3 separate regions of the Homo sapiens genome follow, and all the other regions are linked to region 2. The links are contacts of gene promoters, found by promoter capture Hi-C in blood cells and fetal thymus (Javierre and others, 2016). All regions are on one chromosome and are shown on one strand. The core of a region is centred on a gene start or on the middle of the fragment in contact, and the rest is flanking DNA. Distances in the headings are between cores, read along the strand shown. Region 1 overlaps ARMH3 (armadillo like helical domain containing 3). Region 2 holds the start of HPS6 (HPS6 biogenesis of lysosomal organelles complex 2 subunit 3). Region 3 overlaps ARMH3 (armadillo like helical domain containing 3).

Region 1 (4,440 bases), core at 1,124-3,623, 180 kb before region 2:
CAAAAAATTAGCTGAGCGTGGTGGTGGGTGCCTGTAATCCCAGCTACTAGGGAGGCTGACGCAGGAGAATTGATTGAACCCGAGAAGCAGAGGTTGCGGTGAGCCAAGATCGCGCCATTGCACTCCAGCCTGGGCAACAAGGGCAAGACTCCATCTCAAAAAAAAAAAGGGGGTTAAAATGGTAAATTTTATGTTATGTATATTCTACCACATATAAAAAAAAAAGAGGTAAAAATGAACAAGCTTCACAATTAACCCCAGACAAATATAGCACCTGCATATATACCATAAAAATACATACAGTTTATTACATTAAAAAAATGTATGACCAGGCTGGGTGCAGTGGCTCATGCCTGTAATGCCAGCACTTTGGGAGGCTAAAGCAGGTGGCTCATTTGAGGTCAGGAGTTCAAGACCAACCTGGCAAACATGGCGAAACCCTACTTAAAAAAAACAAAAATCAGCCAGGCATGGTGGCATGCACCTCTAATCCCAGCTACCTGGGAGGCTGAGGCAGGAGAATCGCTTGAACCCAGGGGACAGAGGCTGCAGTGAGCCAAGATCGTGCCACTGTACTCCAGCCTGGGTGACAGAGTGAGACTCTGTCTCAAAAACAAACAAACAAAAAAGAATGATCCTTCAGTCACATTGAGGGTATCAACTGATTAAAAACTTTATCACGAATGATGAAGCCAATGACAATTAACAAAAAAATGTCATTTACCTTCTGGATGTCTGAAAAGAAACCCCAGTGTGAAAGGCTGGGCTTTGTTTAATATGCAATAATGGATTTACAAGTACCACCTTGAAATGCCTCAAACAGAGGCTGGAATGTGTCTAGGGGTTGTCAGAATTCAAGAATTCACAAATCTCTTTGCCAGAAAAAAATGGCAGGCTGGGCAGGCAGACATAGGAAAGTGCCCTGTCTTCTCTGCTAACTTACTAAATGTAACAAATTCCATTTAACATCTATCCATGCTCTTTAGGTTTTATTTTAGGGGTACTTTAGAATCTATTGAGGATTAAGTTCTTGACTTTTTTCTCTACTCAGTCTGCTGCTAACAACTGCAGGGCCCTACTGCAATCCATAAAACTAGCTCTTTGAGAGGCCATGAATACTGTTAACATTAAGTGACATTCACATTAATGCTCATAAGTGAAGGGAGAGAAGTGCTCCAACACATGCTGGAGATTAACAAGGCAGTCAAATACCTCTAATCTGATAGTGCTGAGAATAAACCAAGTGTACTGTAATGCTGTCATTTAGCACCCTTCAAAATCAGTTAGAGAAGAGAAGCAACAACTATTTTGAGGGTGGCTCTCAAGAAGGTCCCAGAATAGTATCACCCTCCTCCAAACCCCCAAGTGAAAAGGACTATTAAAAGAGGTAATGAGTACACAAAGACTCCATGAGAGCAATGACTAAGATTATTCACCACTGATCCCCACTTACCTTAGCACCACAACTTATATTATAGAAGGTATACAATAATAATGATAATTATTATTATTACTATTATTTTGAGACAGGGTCTCATTGTCACCCAGGCTGGAGTGCAGTGGCATGATCACAGCTTACTGCAGCTTCAACCTCCCTGGGTTCACCTCAGCTCCCACCTCAGCCTCCCAAGTTGCTGGGACTACAGGTGCACACCACCACGTCTGGCTAATTTTTCTTTCTCTCTCTCTCTCTTTTTTTTTTTTTTTTTTTTTTTGTAGAGACAGCTTCACCATGTGGTACAGGGTGGTCTTGAATTCCTGGGCTCAAGCAATCTGCCCACCTCAGCCTCCCAAAGTGCTGGGATTACAAGTGTGAGCCACCGCACCCAGCAGGTATACAATTACATATTGACCAAGTAAATCAATCTTGCTATCCTTTCCCCATTCTCCTATGAAATCCCTCTCCATTGAAATCGCTTCGTCTCTGGCCTGCGCACTCTTTTTGAGAGGCACTTTCATCATTTCATTTAACTTTGAAAGAAGTTGGAGGAGGCTGAGGACACGTGCTTGCTAATCATCCTTTCACAGATTGCCTTGTGTGCCAGAAAGGATTTTTATTATTGGTCTGTGGCAGCTACTGCTGGAGAAAGATTTCAGCTTGACCTTCCCAAGCTGCTGGGGGATGAATACTGCACGTGGCTGACAGAGTAAATGTCTCCTTTTTTTTTTTTTTAAAAAAAAAAAAAAGCTTTTAGACTAACCAGAGCTCACTGTGGTAGGAAAGTCACCCCTTCTCTTACTGCATAAAACTCAAGATGTTGAATTATTTTGCATAAAAATGATATAGTAAAATTAATGTGAACTAGTCCAACAAGAAAATGGTAGCATCACAAAGCACCTCACAGACAGCACAGCATCAAAGAACAGGATTCAGGATAGCTCCACAGGCAGAGAGGAAAAAAGGAAATGAAGGCCATTTATAAAAGCAGTTTTAAATGTGAGGATGGATTCTCACAGCTGGGCTCACAAAAGAGAACAAATATGTCAAAGGGAACAACTGACAGACTAATAGAGTCCTATCCATCTGGCTGAGAAAAGAGCCACTGGTGGGAATACTGAGAAGCTTGTCTATTAGGAAAAAGGCTTGCTTGGTGCTTCACTGGGAGAACTGAATAGCTTTGAGGAACACTGAAACACATGGTCAAATCATAGCTGGCTGGCTGGCTCTGCCAGCAAGAAGCTCAAACAAGGGTTACAAAGATGCACTGGCAAAAAAGGAAGAACAGGGCACATATGGTCTTCCTACTGGCTTGGGGTCTATACCCTGGCCCCTCCAATTTGGGAGTAGGATGAAAAGGAAAGGGAACCATGTGAATAGGATGTCTTATTTAGTGCTTTTTAAAAAAGGACTCAAGAGTTTCATTTTGACACATCAAGTTCAATCCCATGCCACGCTAACGCCTCATCTGTACTTTTATATAATGCAGAGCTGAGTGCAGGCACTCTGGGAGAAGGGGAAATCAGGCCAGATTTAAAGAAAACAAAGACACAAGGCTATCTGCATCTCTAACTCAGTCCATACCACAGAAAAACCTCCTCAAAAATAATTGCTCAAGGCAAAGAGAACTCAATTACTAAGGAAAATCTGTCCCAATGAGGGCTCATGTTTTAACGAGCCAAATAGCTTCAAATTAAGCTGAACTCAGGGTTTTTCTAATTGGCAGTTTCATCCATTTCTAAGTTCTCATTTCTTATTTTCAAAAATCAAAATGACTCTCTGCCTAAAATTTTAAAAAAAGAAATGCCTTATCACACTCTAAAACAAATAATTCACCAGATTTTCACCTACATATCTTCTATATAATTAACAAACCCTTCAGATGGCACAAACGCAGACAGCATCACTCTGTATTAAAAGTACTATCAACCAACCCCACACTAATTCCTCTCAGCAGCCTGGCCCTGGTCACTACCACAAAAGCTCAGTCACAGAATCCCCCTGCCATCAGAGAGAAGGCAACTGCTTGATCCTAGCCACCAACTAGGTCATCTGGGGAAAGTAGTGGCTTACCTGCTCCTCTGACAGTTGGGATATGTGATTCACAGCAGCGTAGGACTCAATTTTGGGGTTAAAGTGGTTGATGATGGCTCTGAAACAAAGAATTCGTATTAATATGGTGCCAGATAGAAGAGGTGGATACATCTGTTAAAAAATAAGGATCAAGTACCCTCTGGTTTAGAGTACTAGAGCATGGGACCGATTGTGACTGGGTAACTTCCTCTTATTGAACATGAGGTAGTCACAAATGGGGGTGAATTGATAACTCTGAAGTGGGAAGGATTTACTATTAGACAGAAAATAGAATCAAGCATCTCTGCTCTGCAAATGAACTAACGGAAAAAACCCAAAGCCAAACAAAAATATTGAGTCCTTCAGATGAGAAAGGGAACCCAGAGGGCTGTCCACTAGGGGGCCCTGGTGCTTCAATCAGAAAGAAAAGCTGTCTTGTCTGACTTGGGAGAACAGGGCACTCAGTAAAGCTGGGCCAACAACATATAGGCTAAATAGAAGCAATCTTCATACTTGTTAGTAAATAGTTTCAAACCAAAATTTTATATCCGGCCATTCAACCCAAAAGCTGAGTGTCATTTTAAAACACTCCCTTCTCCATCACTTAGTCACATCCAAAATTACCTAGTCTTATCAAATCTACCTCTTAAAAATCTCTGAAATCTGAAATAAATTTCCCTGAAACCAGTGCCTTGGTATAGGTCTTTGTCATTTCTTGCCTGGTGTAGCAAAAAGAACACAGGTTTTAGATCAGGGTTTTACATGAGTCCATATGAATATAAATGATTCATAGAGAGAGACAAATCTCTTTTTTTCATATATATATATATATTTATTTATATTTATATTTTAGACAGGGTGTCACTCTGTTACCAAGTCTGGAATGCAGTGGCACAATCATGGCTCACTGCATCCTTAACCTCCCAGGC
Region 2 (4,124 bases), core at 455-2,954:
GCAAGACTCTGTCTCAATAAATAAATAAATAGGCCAGGCACGGTGGCTCATGCCTGTAATCCCAGCACTTTGGGAGGCCAAGGCATGTGGATCACGAGGTCAAGAGATCAAGACCATCCCGGCCAGCAAGGTGAAACCCTGTCTCTACTGAAAATACAAAAATTAGGTGGGCGTGGTGGTGGGTGCCTCTAATCCCAGCTACTCGGGAGGCTGGGCAGGAGAATCGCTTGAACCCAGGAGGCAGAGGTTGCACTGAGCCAAGATGGTGCCACTTCACTCAAACGTGGGCGACAGAGTGAGACTCTATCTCAATCAATCAATCAATAAAGGATGGAGGAAGATGAACCAAAGGCAAATAAAACTCTGAAGGCAGTGCTATCTAAAAATAAAAATAAAAAAATAAAATAAAATAAAAGGAAAGGAAAACCAGCCAGGAAAGATGCAGTGCAAACCACAGGAGGGACTTTCAATGAGAAGGCTGTCAAATAAAAATGTCCTTGAAGACCTCAGCAAAAGCTACTTCAGGGAAGTAGTGGGTTGAGGATAGAAGGAAAGAAAGTGGAGGTGGCAAATGTAGCATCCTTGCAAGAAAATTGACTGAGAAAGGAAAAGGGGAGGGAGTGATGGAGGTGGAAGTGGGGAGATGAGGATGAAAGAACGAATTCCAAGACAGGAGAGATGACAGGGTATTTCTATGCTGAGGACGGAATGAGGGCAGTGAAACAGAAATGGATGCAAGTTCTCAAGGAAGGTAGGGGCCGGGGAGGAGAGGCAGGGCTCATAAAGAGGGATTGGCCTTGGAGAGAGGAGGAAAACTGCTCACCTGAAAAGGCAGTCAAGGGGTGGAAGGACCCCTGCATACAAATTTGTAGGTGTTACTGAAGAGTCGGTACACAGGCTCAGTGCTTCTAAATTATGTTTCTCTGTTTTGGTTTGGGTGATGAGTTGTTGATATGATAAAGTGATTTGTTGCACTGACTCTGGAGCCAGAGTGCCTGTGGTTGAAATCCCACCTCCACCACTTAATACCTGCTTGATCTTAGTTAAGTTACGTAATCTCTCTGTGCTTCATCCTCCTTATCTGTAAAAGGGACTAGGGGATAGAGAAGGCTGTCACATAGTGATATGGAAGTGGTTTTCTTTCCTTCCTTCCTTCTCTCTCTCTCTCTTTCTTTCTTTCTGTCTTTTTAAAATTTTTATAGAGACAAGGTCTGCCTATGTTGCTCAGGCTGGTCTCGAACGCCTGGCCTCAAGCAATCCTCCCACCTCAGCCTCCCAAAGTGCTAAGATTATAGGCGTGAGCCACCGCGCCCAGCCATGTTTACTATTTCCACTAGATTGTCATCTCCATGAGGTTGAGGTTTTCTATTTTGTTTAGGGCTGTCTACTCAGAGCCTGGCACAAAGCATGTGCTCAACGAAAATTTCCTGAATGAGTAAATTGGGGTGAAATTCTTGGGAGAGGGGCTCAGGGGGCTGGAATCCCTATTCCTGCGTGGGACTCCGGGCCACTGGGCGGCGTCCTGGGGTCTGGGGAAGGGCCTCCCCCTGCGCCGAGAGCGTGCCCGGGCGGGCGCGGTCCAGGCGCTGAGCCCCTGGGGCGCTCCCGTGGCTCCTCCCCCGGCGGGCGTGTAGTGTCGGCCCAGCGACTGCGGGAGGCATCCCGGAGCCGGCCGGGCGGGGCGGAGTCGACGCTCGGCCCGGCCTCTGCTCACCTCATCCACGGGAGACGGAAGTCTTGGCCCTGCTCCGCTCCCCCGAGAATCGGGCCTCGCCCTGCTGGGCGGCTGGACCTGGGCAAAGCCTGGGCGCGCTCCCGCGCAGCGGCGCCATGAAGCGCTCGGGGACTCTGCGGCTGCTCTCGGACCTGAGCGCCTTCGGCGGCGCGGCGCGGCTCCGGGAGCTGGTGGCCGGGGACTCAGCGGTCCGAGTCCGTGGCAGTCCGGACGGCCGCCACTTGCTGCTCCTGCGACCCCCTGGGGCGGTAGCCCCACAGCTGCTAGTCGCGTCGCGAGGGCCCGGCGCGGAGCTAGAGCGGGCCTGGCCGGCCGGCCAGCCCTCCCCGCTGGACGCCTTCTTCCTGCCGTGGCCAGCGCGGCCGGCGCTGGTGCTGGTGTGGGAGAGTGGCCTGGCCGAGGTGTGGGGCGCGGGCGTGGGGCCTGGCTGGCGGCCGCTGCAGAGCACCGAGCTGTGTCCGGGCGGGGGAGCCCGCGTTGTGGCAGTGGCGGCGCTCCGAGGCCGCCTGGTGTGGTGCGAGGAGCGGCAGGCCCGGGCCGAGGGCCCGTCAGGGTCGCCAGCAGCCGCTTTCAGCCACTGTGTGTGCGTCCGGACTCTGGAGCCCAGCGGGGAAGCTAGCACCAGCCTGGGCCGCACACACGTCCTGCTGCACCACTGCCCTGCCTTCGGGCTGCTGGCCTCCTGCAGACAACTCTTCCTGGTGCCCACTGCCACCACCTGGCCTGGCGTGGCCCACGTTCTACTCATCTGGAGCCCAGGCAAGGGCAAAGTGATGGTGGCTGCCCCACGGCTTGGTCTCTCCTACAGTAAGAGTCTGAATCCTGGACGAGGGGACACATGGGACTTCCGGACCCTGCTCCGAGGCCTTCCTGGGTTGCTGTCCCCCAGGGAGCCACTGGCTGTACACACCTGGGCCCCAACTCCCCAGGGCCTGCTGTTGCTTGACTTCGGGGGCACTGTGAGCCTATTGCAGTCCCACGGTGGTACGCGGGCTGTGGGCACCCTGCAGGAGGCACCTGTAGGCCCGTGGGGGTCTGCAGCCCTAGGCACATTTCAGGGCACTCTGGCCTGTGTGCTGGGCTCCACATTGGAACTGCTGGACATGGGCAGTGGGCAGCTGCTGGAGAGGAAGGTCCTAAGTACAGACAGGGTACATCTGCTAGAACCGCCAGCCCCCGGCATGGAGGATGAGGAAGAGCTGGAGACCCGAGGGAATCTTCGTCTGCTTTCAGCCTTGGGTCTGTTTTGTGTGGGCTGGGAAGCCCCACAGGGTGTTGAGTTGCCTTCAGCCAAGGATCTGGTGTTTGAGGAGGCCTGCGGGTACTACCAGCGGCGGAGCCTGCGGGGTGCCCAGCTCACTCCAGAAGAACTGAGACACAGCAGCACATTCCGGGCACCTCAGGCTCTGGCCTCCATCCTCCAGGGCCACCTGCCCCCATCTGCACTGCTGACCATGTTGAGGACCGAGCTTCGGGATTACCGAGGCTTAGAACAGCTGAAGGCCCAGCTGGTGGCTGGGGATGATGAGGAGGCTGGTTGGACTGAGCTGGCGGAGCAGGAAGTGGCACGCCTGCTGAGGACTGAGTTGATAGGAGACCAGCTAGCCCAGCTCAACACCGTTTTCCAAGCCCTTCCTACAGCAGCCTGGGGTGCCACCCTCAGGGCCCTGCAGCTCCAGCTAGATGGGAATGGCAAGCTGAGGTCCCAAGCACCCCCTGATGTGTGGAAGAAAGTGTTAGGGGGAATAACCGCTGGAAAGGAACCCCCCAATGGAATACTGCCCCCCTTTGAACTCCTGTGCCAGTGTCTGTGCCAGCTGGAGCCTCGATGGCTGCCACCCTTTGTGGAGCTGGCACAGCAGCAGGGCGGGCCGGGCTGGGGGGCAGGGGGCCCAGGACTGCCCCTGTATCGCCGAGCTCTGGCAGTGCTAGGTGAGGAGGGGACCAGGCCTGAGGCTCTGGAGCTAGAGCTGCTCTTGAGCAGTGGGCGGCCTAAAGCTGTGCTCCAAGCTGTCGGGCAGCTGGTGCAAAAGGAACAATGGGATCGGGCTCTGGATGCTGGCCTGGCCCTCGGCCCCTCCAGTCCCCTGCTTCGAAGTGAAATCTTCAAACTGCTGCTGGCCGAGTTTGCCCAGCACCGCCGGCTTGATGCTCACCTCCCCCTCCTTTGCCGCCTGTGCCCACCAGAACTGGCTCCAGCTGAGCTCCTGCTTCTACTGAGGACATACCTCCCAGATGAGGTGGGGCCCCCAACCCCATTCCCTGAGCCTGGAGCAGAGCCCCCTCTCACTGTGGGCTTGCTCAAAGCCCTGCTGGAGCAGACTGGGGCTCAAGGATGGCTGTCGGGCCCAGTTCTAAGCCCATATGAGGACATCCTATGGGACCCCAG
Region 3 (4,322 bases), core at 1,523-4,022, 190 kb before region 2:
CGCCTGTAATCCCAGCTGCTTGGGAGGCTGAGGCACAAGAATCGTTTGAACCCGGGAGGCAGAGGTTGCAGTGAGCCAAAATTGTGCCACTGCACTCCAGCTTGGGAGACAGAGTGAGACTCTGTCTCAAAAAAAAAAAAAAAAGAGGTTAAGCTTCTGGTCAATAGTAGGCTATTAGCAGTTAAGTTTTTGAAGAGTCAAAATATGCAAATTTTCAACTGCACAGGGGGCCAGTGCCTCTAACTTGGGTGTTGTTTAAGGGTCACCAGCAGACAGAAAATAAGTAAAGAGAGAATATTTAAAAGCTACCAACATACTTAACTTCTAAAAGCGATTTATAGAAAACAACTCAACAACAAGGGAACACATTCTTTTCAAATGCACACAGAACATTCAACAAGATGGACTGTACAATGGACCATAAAGCAACTCTCAATAAATTTAAAAGGATTGTAATCACACTGAGTATATTTTCTGACCATCAGGGAATTAAATATGCAATTAGTAACAAAAATATATCTTGAAAATCCCCAAATAATGGAAATGAAACACATTACTATATATCACCAGAGAAATGAGAAAATATTTTAAACTGAATGAAAATGAAAACACAACCTACCAAAATTTGTGAGATGTTGTTAGCACAGGAAAAATTTACAGCTCTAACTTTTCATATTAGAAAATAAGATCTAAAATCAATGACCTAAATTTCTACCTTATGAAATTAGAAAGAGAGCAAATTAAATCAAAGCAAACAGAAGGAAATAATACAGATAACCATATAAATCAATGAAAAGGAAAAATAACAGGCTGGGCATAGTGGTAACACCTGTAATCCCAGCACCTTGAGAGGCTGAGGGGGGTGGATCACTTGAGCTCAAGAGTTTGAGACCAGCCTGAGCAACATGGCAAAACTCCATCTCTACAAAAAATACAAGAATTAGCTAGGTGTGGTGGCGGAAGCCTGTAGTCCCAGATACTCAGGAGGTTGAAGCCAGAGGATCACTTGATCCTGGGAAGTGGAGGCTGCAGTGAGCAGAGATTGCGCCACTGCACTCCAGCCTGGGTGACGAAGTGAGATCCTGTCTTAAAAAGAAAACAAAAGAAAAATAACAGAAAACCAATGAAACTAAAAGCTAATTCTTTGAAAGATTAATAAAATTGACAAACCTCTAACCAGGCTGATAAGCAACAGAAGAGAAAAGACACACATTACTCATATCATGAATTTGAGAGGGCATCACTATAAATCCTACAGGGATTTCAAGGAACAGGGAGAATTTTATGAACGAATTATGCCAATAAATTCAACAACCTACATAAATGAATAACTTCCTTGAAGACACAAATGATTAAAACTGGTTCAAGAACAAGTAGTAAACTGACTATTCCTAAATCTATTAAAGAAATTCAACTAACAATTAAAATGTTTTCCACAGAAGTATACTGATATATGCATTTTACTTTGAAACACATTAAAAAAAGATGGATTGATGGATGGAGATCTATCCTATGGGTTATACATGTGATAAAGCAAGTAGAGTGAAATGTAAATAACAGAATTTAGGTGAGGGTTATGTGGCTATTCACCATATAATTTTTTCCAACTTTACTATATGTTTGAAATTTTCCCTAATAAAATATTGGGTATAAATTCTTCCCACAAAGAAAACTATAGGTCCAGATGACTTCACTGATTATGCTACTAAACATTAAGCAAGAAATAAAACCAATCCTATACAAACTCTTTTTAAAAACAGGGGAGGAAGGAATACTTCCCCAACTCATTTTTTAAGAGCAATATTACTCTAATACCCAAACCAAACAAAGACATCACAAGAAAACAATGAACTTTGGGAGGCCTGGTAGCCTGTAGTCCCAGCTACTCAGGAGGCTGAAGTGGGAGGATCACCTGAGCCCGACGAGGTTGACGCTGCAGTGAGCTGTGATCATGCTACTGTACTCTAGCCTGGATGACAGAGTAAGACCCTGTCTCAAAAAAACCCAAACAACAAACAAACAACCAAAAAACCCAAAAATCTAATAAATAAGTTTATCAAGGATGCAGGAAAAAAAAGTCAATTAAAAAACAAGTATATTTCCATAAACTAGCAACAAACGACTGGAAATTGAAATTTAAAATACCATTTACATGACATAAAAATGAAATATTTAGGGATAAATTGAGCAAAATAGGCATAAAACAAGTACACTACGAAACACTGACAAAAATTTTAACAGACCTAAATAAATGGAGAGGTATATTATGTTTACTCCATTATGGATATGAAAACAGTATTATTAAAAGTATCAATTCTCTTCCAAGTCATCTATAGAGTTAATGCAATTCTAATCAAAATCTCACCAGTCTTTTTGCAGAAACAAGCTAATTTTATACAGAAATGGAAAGGACCTAGAATATTCAAAAACATTTAAAAAAAACAAAATTAGAGGGTTAGCTGATTTCAAGATTTATTATAGACATACAATAATCAAGACATGGTAGACCATAAATTTAGACGTATAGACCAATGGAACAGAACTGACGGTCCAGAAATAAACTGCACATACATGTTCAATTGATTTTTTTTTACAATGCGCCTAAGTACCTCAATGGAGAAAGAGTAGTCTTTTCAACAAATGGCAACATAACTGAATATTTGGCGGGGGGGAAAGAACATTTACCACACACCATAAAAAAGGTTAATTTGAAATGAATCACAGAACTAAATGTAAAAGCCAGAATTACAAAACTTACAGAAGAAAATACAACGAGGCCGGGTACAGTGGCTCACACTTGTAATCCCAGCACTTTGGGAGGCCGAGGTGGGTGGAACACTTGAGGCCAGGAGTTCAAGACCAGCCTGGTCAACATGGTGAAACCCTGTTTCTACTAAATATACAAAAATTAGCTGGGTGTGGTGGTGCACGCTTGTAATCCCAGCTGCTCAGGAGGCTGAGGCATGAGAATTGCTTGAACCCGGAGGCAGAGGTTGCAGTGAGCCGAGAATGTGCCACTGCACTCCAGCTTGGGCGACAGAGTAAGACTCTCAAAAAAAAAGAAAAAAAGAAAGTACAATGAACATTTTTGCAACCAGAAGTAGGCAGAGATTTATTAAATAAAACACAAAAGCATGACTCCTTTAAAAAGTAAATTAATCTTCATGAATATCTACTTAAGTTAAAATTGATCTTAAAAATATCTAGTATTTGAAAGACATCACTGAGAATATGCAAAGAAAAATGGCAAGCTACTGACTTGGAGAAAATATTTAGAGAGTGTGTGTGTGTGTGTCTGTGTAACAACGTGTGTGTGTGTGTGTGTGTGTGTAACAACCTGCATCAAAAATATATAAAAACTCATAAATAATACAATTTAAGAAAAGAAGAACAACCAAATTTTAAAAATAGGTAAATGATCTGGACACTTCACAAAAGAAGATATATAATGGCCACATAAAAAGCTGCTCTAGCCGGGCACAGTGGCTCATGTCTGTAATCCCAGCACTTTGGGAGGCCAAGGTGGGTGGATCACTTGAGGTGAGGAGTTCAAGACCAGCCTGACCAATATGGTGAAAACCCGTCTCTACTAAAAATACAAAAATCAGCTGGACGTGGTGGCACGCACCTGTGGACCCAGCTAACTCAGGAGGCTGAAGCAGGAGAATCACTTGAACTTGCTCTAGTCATCATGCAAATTAAAACTAATAATATTAAAAAGTTGTAATAAGTGGCTGGGCATGGTGGCTCATCCCTGTAATCCCAGCATTTTGGGTAGCCAAGGCAGGTGGATCATCTGAGGTCAGGAGTTCAAGACCAGCCTGGCCAACATGGTGAAACCCCATCTCTACTAAAAATACAAAAATTAGCCAGGTGGGGTGGTAGGCGCCTGTAATCCCAGCTACTCGGGAGGCTGAGACAGGAGAATTGCTTGAACCCAGGAGGTGAAGATTGCAGCGAGCCGAGATCACGCCACTGCACGCCAGCATGTGTAACATAGCAAGACTCCATCCCAAAAAAGAAAAAAAAAAAGCTGTAATAAGTATACTACATACCCAATGGCTAAAATTAAAGACTCATAATTCCCAGTGTGGCAAAGACATGGTGTAGTTGGAACTTTCGTATGTTCGTTGATTGGAATGAGAAATGGTAGAACCACTTTTGAAAACAGCGTGGCAGGCCGGGCACAGTGGCTCACGTCTGTAATCCCAGCACTTTGGGAGGCCGAGGTGGGCGGATCATGAGGTAAGGAGTTCAAGACCAGCCTGACCAACATAGTGAAACCCCGTCTCTACTAAAAATACAAAAAAAAAAAAAAATTA

The links. The method cuts DNA at HindIII sites, captures the fragments that hold promoters and counts their contacts. A CHiCAGO score of 5 or more calls a contact.
Region 1: a contact is called between a fragment that was not itself captured here and the fragment with the promoter of HPS6 in region 2, in 1 of 17 cell types (erythroblasts). The highest score is 5.2, in erythroblasts.
Region 3: a fragment that was not itself captured here is called in contact with the fragment with the promoter of HPS6 in region 2 in 1 of 17 cell types (erythroblasts); the score reaches 5.3 in erythroblasts.

What each region holds. Positions count from the first base shown.
Region 1 is chr10:101,885,901-101,890,340 of GRCh38, forward strand. It overlaps ARMH3 (armadillo like helical domain containing 3), which reads right to left. Exons shown (of 26, transcript NM_024541.3): 24 at 3,512-3,590. Among named protein-coding and RNA genes, the nearest start is that of KCNIP2, 44 kb to the left of the region's middle. The HindIII fragment of the contact is 375 bases long and covers 2,187-2,561 here.
Region 2 is chr10:102,063,645-102,067,768 of GRCh38, forward strand. It overlaps HPS6 (HPS6 biogenesis of lysosomal organelles complex 2 subunit 3), which reads left to right and starts at 1,705. Exons shown (of 1, transcript NM_024747.6): 1 at 1,705-4,124. The coding sequence starts at 1,831. RefSeq lists an enhancer at 1,197-1,246 and a silencer at 1,457-2,126. The HindIII fragment of the contact is 26,306 bases long and covers 1-4,124 here.
Region 3 is chr10:101,868,944-101,873,265 of GRCh38, forward strand. All of the region lies in intron 24 of ARMH3 (armadillo like helical domain containing 3), which reads right to left. The region is part of intron 2 of LOC101927445 (a long non-coding RNA gene); the gene reads left to right. Among named protein-coding and RNA genes, the nearest start is that of KCNIP2, 27 kb to the left of the region's middle. The HindIII fragment of the contact is 5,243 bases long and covers 152-4,322 here.